3 separate regions of the Homo sapiens genome follow, and all the other regions are linked to region 1. Evidence: promoter capture Hi-C in human tissues and cell types (Jung and others, 2019). All regions are on one chromosome and are shown on one strand. Each heading gives the region's core, a stretch centred on a gene start or on the middle of the fragment in contact. The rest is flanking DNA. Distances are from core to core; before and after follow the strand shown.

Evidence for each region. The method cuts DNA at HindIII sites, captures the fragments that hold promoters and counts their contacts. A contact is called where the count stands out against the background at its distance.
Region 2: a contact is called between a fragment that was not itself captured here and the fragment with the promoter of MEI1 in region 1, in 1 of the 25 tissues and cell types used here (dorsolateral prefrontal cortex).
Region 3: a fragment that was not itself captured here is called in contact with the fragment with the promoter of MEI1 in region 1 in 1 of the 25 tissues and cell types used here (spleen).

The regions. Positions count from the first base shown.
Region 1 is chr22:41,697,849-41,701,113 of GRCh38, forward strand. MEI1 (meiotic double-stranded break formation protein 1) reads left to right here and starts at 1,655. Exons shown (of 31, transcript NM_152513.4): 1 at 1,655-1,864. The coding sequence starts at 1,691. It also overlaps the pseudogene C22orf46P. RefSeq lists a silencer at 1,628-1,727. The HindIII fragment of the contact is 9,130 bases long and covers 543-3,265 here.
Region 2 is chr22:42,607,396-42,610,660 of GRCh38, forward strand. All of the region lies in intron 1 of POLDIP3 (DNA polymerase delta interacting protein 3), which reads right to left. It overlaps LOC124905127 (a long non-coding RNA gene), which reads right to left. Exons shown (of 2, transcript XR_007068118.1): 2 at 1,340-1,567. Among named protein-coding and RNA genes, the nearest start is that of POLDIP3, 5.9 kb to the right of the region's middle. The HindIII fragment of the contact is 5,591 bases long and covers 1-3,265 here.
Region 3 is chr22:42,433,882-42,437,146 of GRCh38, forward strand. It overlaps a transcript of NFAM1 not described here. Among named protein-coding and RNA genes, the nearest start is that of NFAM1, 3.1 kb to the left of the region's middle. The HindIII fragment of the contact is 3,004 bases long and covers 163-3,166 here.

The DNA of each region.
Region 1 (3,265 bases), core at 405-2,904:
TCACACTGCTTCACAGAGGGATCTTCAGCTGCAAGGTCACTGCTGTACTGGGGCCACCCTTCCTAAGACAGAGAGTCCCCAGGGCCAGGAGGCACCTGGGAACCCAAATGGGGCTCCACAGAATACACGAGCCTCCAAAAAGTTTAGTATTATGAAGCATCTGAATTTTTTTCTCTTCCAGAATGGCTTTAAAAAGTAGACTCAGGCCCAGAGTCCTCAGGACATATCAGAAAAGCTTTGAGAGTGTCCTGATCCCTGCAAAGCCTCTAATAAATTGGTCATTTGGGCCCTGTGGTGTTCTGATTTCTCTGGCACATTTTCCAAGTGCCCCCTTTCGGGGTTTGGGATACTTTGTGGGTGGGGTAGAAGCCCCTTCCACTCTGTGGTTGTGGTTTAGGGAATGTGGGTCAACCCAGTGTCCTCTCCGAAACACCTGCCCCCCAGCTCCTCACAGTGGAGTCCACTGAGGTTCTATCCTGCTCTGTCTCCAAGCTAATCCTGATTGAGGCAGGACACTCCAAAAGCCTCAGCTGCTTATGGGGAGGGGTGGTCCTCTGCATGGGACGCTTTTTTTTTTTTTTTTGAGATGGAGTGTAGGTCTGTGGCCCAAGCTGGAGTTCAGTGGCTTGATCTCCGCTCACTGTAACCTCCGCCTCCTGGGTTCAAGCGATTCTGCTGCCTCAGCCTCCCGAGTAGCTGGGATTACAGTCATGAGCCACCACACCCAGCTAATTTTTGTATTTTTAGTAGAGGAGGGGTTTCGCCCTGTTGCTCAGGCTGGTCTTGAACTTCTTTCTCTCTGTCTTTGGTGTTTTGTTTTGTTTTTTTACTTTTATTTTTTGGTCTTAAGCTTCTGATTTATTTATTTATTTTTAAGATGGAGTCTTCCTCTGTCACCCAGGCTGGAGTGCAGTGGTGCGATCTTGGCTCACTGCAACCTCCACCTCCCAGGTTCAAGTGATTCTCCTGCCTCAGCCTCCCTCCCAAAGTGCTGTGATTACAGGCATGAGCCAACTCACCCAGCCTCTAATTGCTTTTAGATGCGAATCCTTGGGATCGCTTATTTTCCTTTTTTTTTTTTTTTTTGAGATAGAGTCTTGCTCTGTCGCCAGGCTGGAGTGCAGTGGCACAATCTCAGCTCACTGCAACCTCCGCCTCCCAGGTTCAAGTGATTCCCCTGCCTCAAGCCTCCCAAGTAGCTGGGATTACAGGCACTTGCCACCACACCCAGCTAATTTTTTGTATTTTAGTAGAGACGGGGTTTCACCATGTTGGGTAAGATGGTCTTGATCTCCAGATCTCGTGATCCGCCCACCTCGGCTTCCCAAAGTGCTGGGATTACAGGCGTGAGCCACCATGCCCGGCCTTCATTTTTAAAAAACAGTAGAAATAGCTTCCTTTCCTTCCTTTTTCAAGGCAAATGCCCCCTACTTTATAATTGCTTTTCAACTTTGGATGTGGTAAAGACATTCCTGCAGGGTTCTAAGCACAAACCGCTTTTGGCTTAGCTAGACACGATCCAGAGCACTTGCGTCCACCACTTGCCCTCAGTGGCTGCTGCTCGTCTGAGACTGCAGCGCCCTGGGTCCGCGCAGGCGCATTCCACACCGACGCAGGTCCGTCCTCCAAGTGCGCATGCGTGCAGTCTGCGCGGGAAAGAGTGCCGCCTCAGCTGAGGGCAAGCGAGGAGATGGCTGTGAGGCAGGCGGCGACGGCGGGCACTCCCGGGCCCAGGAGAGAGGAAGAGGCGGCGCTTCTATTCGAGAGGGCCCATTACCGGCACGACCCGCGCTGGCTGCTGCCCGTGACCCCCCGCCTGTGCCTGGCCTGCGCGCTGGAGCTGCTGCCGGACCCCGGCGTGTCGGTGCGGGCGGAACCTTTTCTTCAGAAGACCTGGGTTTGGCCATTTCCCTCAGCAAACGCGGCCAGGCCCTTGCCAGACCCGCTCCGGTGAACCCGACGCGAAACCGGGCCCCCGCGCTGTGTTCACTCTCCTCCCTGTCAGCCCGTCCCGGACCCGGCCGCAGCGGCCTCTCGGGCCCCTCAGCCCCAGGCCGGCCTGCGGGCCTCCGTGGAGCCCGGTCCACTGGCTCTGCGCCTGAAAGGACGGAAATCCGGATCCCCCGGGACCTCACCCAGTCTCAGGGACACACCTTCCCGCCTTCCGCCTTCTGGCTCCTTCCCTTTGCTGCCCCTGCCTCCATTTCCCGGGGATTCGGCCTTAGCTCAGGCTCCCGCCATTTCAGCCTCCCGCCATTTCAGCCTCCACTCACCTGCGGGCCAGGGGCGCATGCGGCGGCCGCTCCTCATTCCCTTCAGCTGTCGGGGTGTGAATCGGAGGAGGGGCAGTCTGGGCTCCGAGGGGACAGGAGTGACAGGTTACAGCCGGGCAGAAGTGGGGGTGAACGGGAAGACTGTTCCTTGGGCAGAGCTGGCCAAAGCGGGCTGCCTGGGTCCTCATTGCCTACCGCGTTTGCAATGAAGTGGTTTTGTTTGTTTCGAGACGGAGTCTCGCTCTGACACCCAGGCCGGAGTGCAATGGCGCCATCTCCGCTCACTGCAACCTCTGTTTCCTGGGTTCAAGCGATTCTCCTGCCTCAACCTACCCAGTAGCTGGGATTACAGGCTCCCGCCACCACGCTCGGCTAATTTCTCTATTTTTAGTAGAGACGGAGTTTCATCATGTTGGCCAGGCTGGTCTCGAACTCTTGACCTCAGGTGATCCACCCGCCTCGGCTTCCCATAGTGCTGGGATTATAGGCGTGAGCCACGGTGCCCGACCTGCAGTGAGTTTTCTTGTCCATGGAGGCATCCAAGAAGACTTTGGGAGGTCAAGTTTCTCTCCAATTCATGGGAGGGGAATTCGTGAGTGGGTGGATTGGCTAGATCAGCAGTTCTCAATTTTTTTTTTTTTTTTTTTTTTTTTTGTAGAAACGGTCCCGGGGGTCTCCCTGTGTTGCCCAGGCTGGTCTTGAACTCCTAGTCTCAAGCAATTCTCCTGCCTTGACCTCCCAAAGTCCAAAGTGTTGGGATTGCATCTGTGAGCCACCGTGCCTGGCTGCGTTCTCAAATATTTTGATTTCTTTCTTTCTTTTTTTTTTTTTTTTTGAGATGGAGTTTCACTCTTGTTGCCCAGGCTGGAGTGCAATGGCGCAATCTCAGCTCACCGCAACCTCCGCCTCCCGGGTTCAAGCGATTCTCCTGCCTCAGCCTTCCGAGTAGCTGGGATTACATGCATGCGTCACTACGCCCAGCTAATTTTGTA
Region 2 (3,265 bases), core at 515-3,014, 910 kb after region 1:
GTCTCGCTCAATCAGTGCTCGTTGCCCAGGCTGGAATGCAGTGGAGTGATCTCGGCTCGCTACAACCTCCACCTCCCAGCCGCCTGCCTTGGCCTCCCAAAGTGCCGAGATTGCAGCCTCTGCCCGGCTGCCACCCCGTCTGGGAAGTGAGGAGCGTCTCTGCCTGGCCGCCCATCGTCTGGGATGTGAGGAGCCCCTCTGCCCGGCCGTCCAGTCTGGGAAGTGAGGAGCGCCTCTTCCCGGCCGCCATCCCATCTAGGAAGTGAGGAGCGTCTCGGCCCGGCCGTCCATCGTCTGAGATGTGGGGAGAGCCTCTGCCCCGCTGCCCCGTCTGGGATGTGAGGAGCGCCTCTGCCCGGCCGCGACCCCATCTGGGAACTGAGGAGTGTCTCTGCCCGACCGCCACCCCGTCTGGGAGGTGAGGAGCTTCTCTGCCCGGCCACCCCGTCTGGGAAGTGAGGAGCCCCTCCGCCCAGCAGCCGCCCCGTCTGGGAAGTGAGGAGCGTCTCCGCCCGGCAGCCGCCCCGTCTGGGAGGGAGGTGGGGGGCAGCCCCCGCACAGCCAGCCGCCCTGTTCGGGAGGTGGGGGGCGCCTCCACCCAGCCACCACCCCGTCTGGGAAGTGAGGAGCCCCTCTGCCCGGCCGCCACCCCGTCTGGGAGGTGTACCCAACAGCTCATTGAGAACGGGCCATGAAGACGATGGCGGTTTTGTCGAATAGAAAAGGGGGAAATGTGGGGAAAAGAGAGATCAGATTGTTACTGTGTCTGTGTAGAAAGAAGTAGACGTGGGAGACTTCATTTTGTTCTGTACTAAGAAAAATTCTTCTGCCTTGGGATGCTGTTAATCTATAACCTTACCCCCCCCCCCAAAAAAAAATTAGCTGCAAGTGATGATGCACATCTGTAGTCCCAGCTACTCAGAAGGCCAAGGCAGGAGGATCAACTAAGCCCAGGAGGTCCAGGCTGCAGTGAGCCAAGATCACACCACTGGACTCCAGCCTGGGAGACAGAACAAGACCCTGTCTCAAAAATCAAAACAAAACAAAACAAAAAAAAACCACCACCACCAAAACAAAAAGAAACAATCTTCCTTATCATTATTGTCTGGTATTTCAGTTTCAATATGTTGTTAAACCCTTAAAAATTTATACATATATATAAAGGAAGGATAAACAGTCCGCAGGCTGAAGAAATCTTAGGACTCCGGTCATGCCCAGGGATACGGAGCACTCTCTAGCGACCAAAGGGTGAGCACAAGCAGCGAGGCGAGCGGGTGGTGCACGCACTGAGAACTCGCATACCACAATGCCTGCCTGGCAGGAAGGACCACCAAGATGCTTTGTGCTGGCATTTTTATCTATTTGAACAGCCTAAAAGGCACATTTAGGGGTGGGAGTTAACGGTAGTTGAGGATGTAGTAGGAGCTCCTCACGGTGGGAGGGAGTAAGCTATTTCCCTCAATCTGATGCACTCAGTTCCCTGGTTCCACCAGTGCTTTCAACTTCTTTCGTGAACAGCTTGAGGGGGCTTCAGTGTTCAGGCTTTTTATAATCACAGCTGCTCTTCCTGCATGAAAAGACAGCTATTCATCCCAGCAGGCAGCAGTACTGGTTTCAGGCAGGCATTAGTCATCGGAAATTTTTCAAATCAACACTCCTGCCAGGGGTAGGTCTCTAAAACACAGACTCAATTATGTTACCCTCCCGCTTCTAGAACTGCTGGGGGCTCCTTTACAAAGCCCAACCCCTGGGGGGGCCTCGGCTCTGGCTCCAGCTTATGGCTGCAGCCTTACTCCCCACTGCAGTGACTACTGACGTTCCCAAAACACATCCTGCACTTTTATCCTCAGTAAATGTTTGGGAGGGCGAAGGAGGAAGGTTTTGACTGAGTCTCGTAATGCCCCACCTCCATCGCACCGAAACTACAGCTCTGCAACTGCTTCCAGGGCTTCACCAGGTATTCCGCGAGGTCCTGGCAAGAGCGCTGCTGGCAGGTGAGAAGGCAAACGTTCCCTGGACCCCAAATTCTCTCCTCTATACCCCCTACGGGAACCTGGCATAGGTGTGATGACCAGGGAGGGTCTGTCTGGGCTATAGGAATATTTCACCCTCCTGGCTCTGTCTGGGGAGGGCAGGGCTACAGCCCATTCTGGACAGATGTCCAGTCCAAAAGATTCAGGCCCATGAAGTGGGGCCCTGGATTATTATAAAGCAGATTTTAACCCATGGGTTTAAAATCCTCTGGGTTATGGGAGGCAGAGGTTGCCATGAGCCAAGATCGCACCACTGCACTCCAGCCTGGGTGACAGAGCAAGATTCCGTCTTATAAAAACAAACAAAAAAAGCTTCTGGGTTAGGGGGTGTTCGTTTAGGTGTGTGTTTAGGTCATTTTTATAGAGAGAAAACAGCTTAATTCTAACTATGACTGAGGGTCAACTCTGAATTAGGTGTTTAAGAGACACAAAGAAAAACAAGACACTAAAATACTATCCCCTGCTGGGCGAGGTGGCTCACGCCTGTAATCCCAAGCACTTTGGGAGGCTGAGATGGGCGGATCACTTGAGGTCAGGAGTTTGAGACCAGCCTGGCCAACATGGTGAAACCCTGTCTCTACTAAAAATACAAAAAATTAGCCGGGCGTAGTGGCCCATGCCTGTAGTCCCAGCTACTCAGGAGGCTGAGGCAGGAGAATCGTTTGAATCCAGGAGGTGGAGGTTTCGGTGAGCTGAGATCGCGCCATTGCACTCCAGCCTGGGCAGCAAGAGCAAAACTCTGTCTCAAAAATAAATAAATAAAATAAAATACTATCCCCTTACCCAAGAGTCTTGTGCAGATGTTTCATTTTAAAACATAATTCGTTCCCTAGAGTTATGTAATAACTCATTTCCTCCCTTTTGTGTTTAGGTCTTTATTTCCTTTATCTTATTTCAACAAGGAAACAAGCAGTCAGTACCAGGACCAGAGTCCTGGGCTGAACTGCAAAGTTTACAATCCACCCTGTCCCCCAACAACCTCCCACTTCCAGCTCCAAGGACTCCCCAGATGAGGCGTCTGGCCCAGAGAGCTGCTCAACTCCAGCCTCCAGCACATTCAAGGCTGCCACACTGAACTGCTTGGAGGCAGCTGACAGAAAGCTATCCGCTGAGGGTTAAACTCATCGAACTAACAAAAGCGGACATGTCAACTGACTTAACTGGGGATGCCCTCATATCTAAAGGAAGAAACTGCTGGGCACAGTGGCTCACACCTGTAACCCCAGCACTTT
Region 3 (3,265 bases), core at 415-2,914, 740 kb after region 1:
TGATAGACCTCGTGTCAATGCCTCAGGGTACACGGGGAGCATTGGAAAAGCATCGGTCTGTGCCTCTACAAGTCTCATTACGACTTGGCACTGGGAGGCAGCTGAATGCCAAACTGCCTCGGAACAAGGGAGCCTGCTCTTCCAGCCCTGGTGCCGCCTCCGCTCCTGCCCCTGTGCCAGCTCACTGACCCTACCTCTCAGCCTGTCACGGTGCCCCCCACACCCCAACTCTGTACCTCGGACTCCCGGGAGTTCTGCCGCCTCTGAGTCTGGGTCTAGCCTGCTGCACACCTGGTTTCCACGCTTGCCTGCCTGAGCTGCCTGTCTTCCTCCCCTCTCCTTCTTGAGCCTGGCCCAGGGGGTGCAGGAATGGACGGATGGGTGAGCATAAGGCAGGGAGAAGCCTTCCTCCAGGCTTGATATGAAGGCAGGTGCCCAACACCACGCTGGTGCACAAGAGGCCTCAAGGGAAGGGGTAGCCTCTGGGAGGCAGGGTGGGAGGAGGCGTGCATACTCCCCAGGCAGGCCCTGGGCTGTGGAGCGCAGACATGACTGGACAAGAAGCAGCTGAGGGTCCCAGCTCATTGCCCAGTTTCTGAGACGCTCTGCAGCCACGCAGCCTCCTGGGGAGAGGCAGGGACGCACCTTGGCAAGGAGCCCAGCAGCCCTGGCTGCGCTGTCGGGGCCTCGTGTCTGGCCCTGATCCTCCTCGGGAGCCAGGGGGATAGAAATAAAACCGCAGCGCATCCAGGAGCCTCATTTCTACCAAAACTTTCTAGCACCTCTCATGTGCTTCCTCTCCTGTGCCCTCAGCCAGAGCTGTGAATAAACAGTAAAGGCCCCAAAGGCTGAAGGCGGAGCAGAGGAATGAGGAGGCTCTGTGGGTGTCCCAGGGGCAGCTTCAGTGGCACAGCCTTCGAGCTAGGCCTTGGCAGCTGAATTTGCAGGTGAGGTCCCTGGGGACCACACGTCTCAGCCACTGGCTTTTGCCCAGACCTCCGTCCATTCCCCGTTTATCCGTGCATCTATGCCTCACAGTATACTGAACACCTGCCCTGCCCTGGGCCCTGGCCTCACGGAGGCTGTAGAAGTGAAAGAGCCTAGCCTCCCTGGGAAGCCTAGGGGCACGGCAACCTCAGCAGAGTGAAGCAATAATAGAGCAGTTCCGGGAAGCTTCCAAGCGCCTGACACTGCTCCAGGGGACCTGCTCTCCTTGCCAGTTTAATCCTCACTGCAGCCCTATGGGGCAGGCACTCTAATCACCTCCATTGTACAGATGAGGAAACTGAGGAACAGGGAGGTTAAAGTAATTTCTGAGTGGCAGCCCTGAAGGAGGTGGAAGCTGGGTGGGGAAATGGGGGAGCCCAGGTGTCCCCTGCAGTCCCCAGGGGCCTCCTCGACACCAAGACTAAGGCTTTCCAAATGAGACCACAATTACTGGCCTCTGTTTTCTTTTTCTTTTCTTTCTTTTTTTTTTTTTTTTGAGACAGAATTTTTCTCTTGTTGCCCAGGCTGGAGTGCAATGGCGCGATCTCGGCTCACCGTAAACTCTGCCTCCCGGGTTCAAGTGATTCTCCTGCCTCAGCCTCCCGAGTAGCTGGGATTACAGGCATGTGCCACCACGCCCGGCTAATTTTGTATTTTTAGTAGAGATGGCATTTCTTCATGTTGGTCAGGCTGGTCTCGAACTCCCAACCTCAGGTGATCCGCCCACCTCAGCCTCCCAAAGTGCTGCGATTATAGGTGTGAGCCACTTTGCCCAGCTGGTCTCTGTTTTCAGTTTAGTTCCACAAACACTTATTATGTGCCTACTGCGTGCCAGGCATTGGGCAGACAAAACATAAGTCATGGTTTTGCCCTCAAGGCGCTCCCTGTCCAGGGAGAAAAACAGATCCCCTACCCACGACCACCTCCAAGATTTCCTTTTCTTCTTCTTTTTTTTTTTTTTTTTTTTTGAGACAGGCTCAAAAAAGACTCCACTAGGCTGGAGTGCAGTGGCATGATCTCAGCTCACTGAAATCTCTGCCTTGCGGGTTCAAGTGATTCTCCCGCCTCAGCCTTCCGAGTAGTTGGGATTACAGGCGCCTGCCACCACACCTGGCTAATTTTTGTATTTTTAGTAGAGATAGGGTTTTACCATGTTGGCCAGGCTGGTCTCGAACTCCTGACCTCAGGTGATCTGCCCGCCTTGGCCTCCCGAAGTGCTGGGACTACAGGCGTGAGCCACCGCACCCGGCCTCAATCCAGGATTTTCAAATGCCCCAGCCAGCAAGTGGCAGCTGAGAGGCCTCCAGCCGGGACACAGTGAGGTCCTGAGCTCTTCATGGTTCCTTTCTGCACAGGAAGCAGAAGTGCCGTGGGAAGGAGATCCCTCTGCTCCCCGCTGCGGCTGCGAAAATCACTTCCTTCCTCCCCAAAGACTCCAGCACCAAGAGGAGCTGAGCCGACCAGCAGGAGGGACCCCTCAGAATGACCCTCTGAGCTGGCTTCACTGAGGCAAAAAGGGTTCCAGGGTACTCAGGGGCCGATCCACCCTCTCTCTCAAACACCCTCACTATCAAAAAGGGCAGCCTCCATCCTAGGAGCAGCCGGGTTTACCTCTGGGGCCGTCTTGTGCCTCGCAGTGGCCCTGCAGCTGGGTGGTGCTGACCCCACCAGAGGCAGGCAGACCCACCTGGAGGCCATCTGCCCGCAGGCTGCCCGGGCTGGAAGCCTGGCCTGGCTTGTCTCCAGAATCCCCTCTCAGTTCCAGCTGCTTGTATTTTTGGCTCTTAAGCATTTGTTTGATGCCAGACACAGTTCTAAAGGCTTTTCTTGTACTTCAGCCCTCATAGAAACCTTGTATGGGAGGTGTTATGACTGCTCCTGCTTCGCAGATGAGGAAACTGGAGTTCAGAGAACACAAGCCACTTGCCCAAGGCCACACAGCGAAGACGCAGTGGAACAAGGGCTCCAGCTCCCGGGACCTGGCTTTAACCACTGCGCTCTCCTGCAATTCACCTGGTCCTTTAATCAGGGCAGATATTATACGCCTCAGCTGACATATTTAGTGAGGGAGAAAAACAGTGACTCACCTGCTTGAGGTCACAGAGGGGACCCGGGCTTTTCTACTGGACACATACCATGGTCCCCCTGCTATGCTCAGTTTCTGGGAGGCAGCAAGGAGCTAGTGCCAACTCCCCAACCCCGCCACACCAAAAGGAATCTTCAAGATCTGGAAGAAACAAAAAACAAAGGTGGCATGATTTTTTCTTTTTGTCTTTTT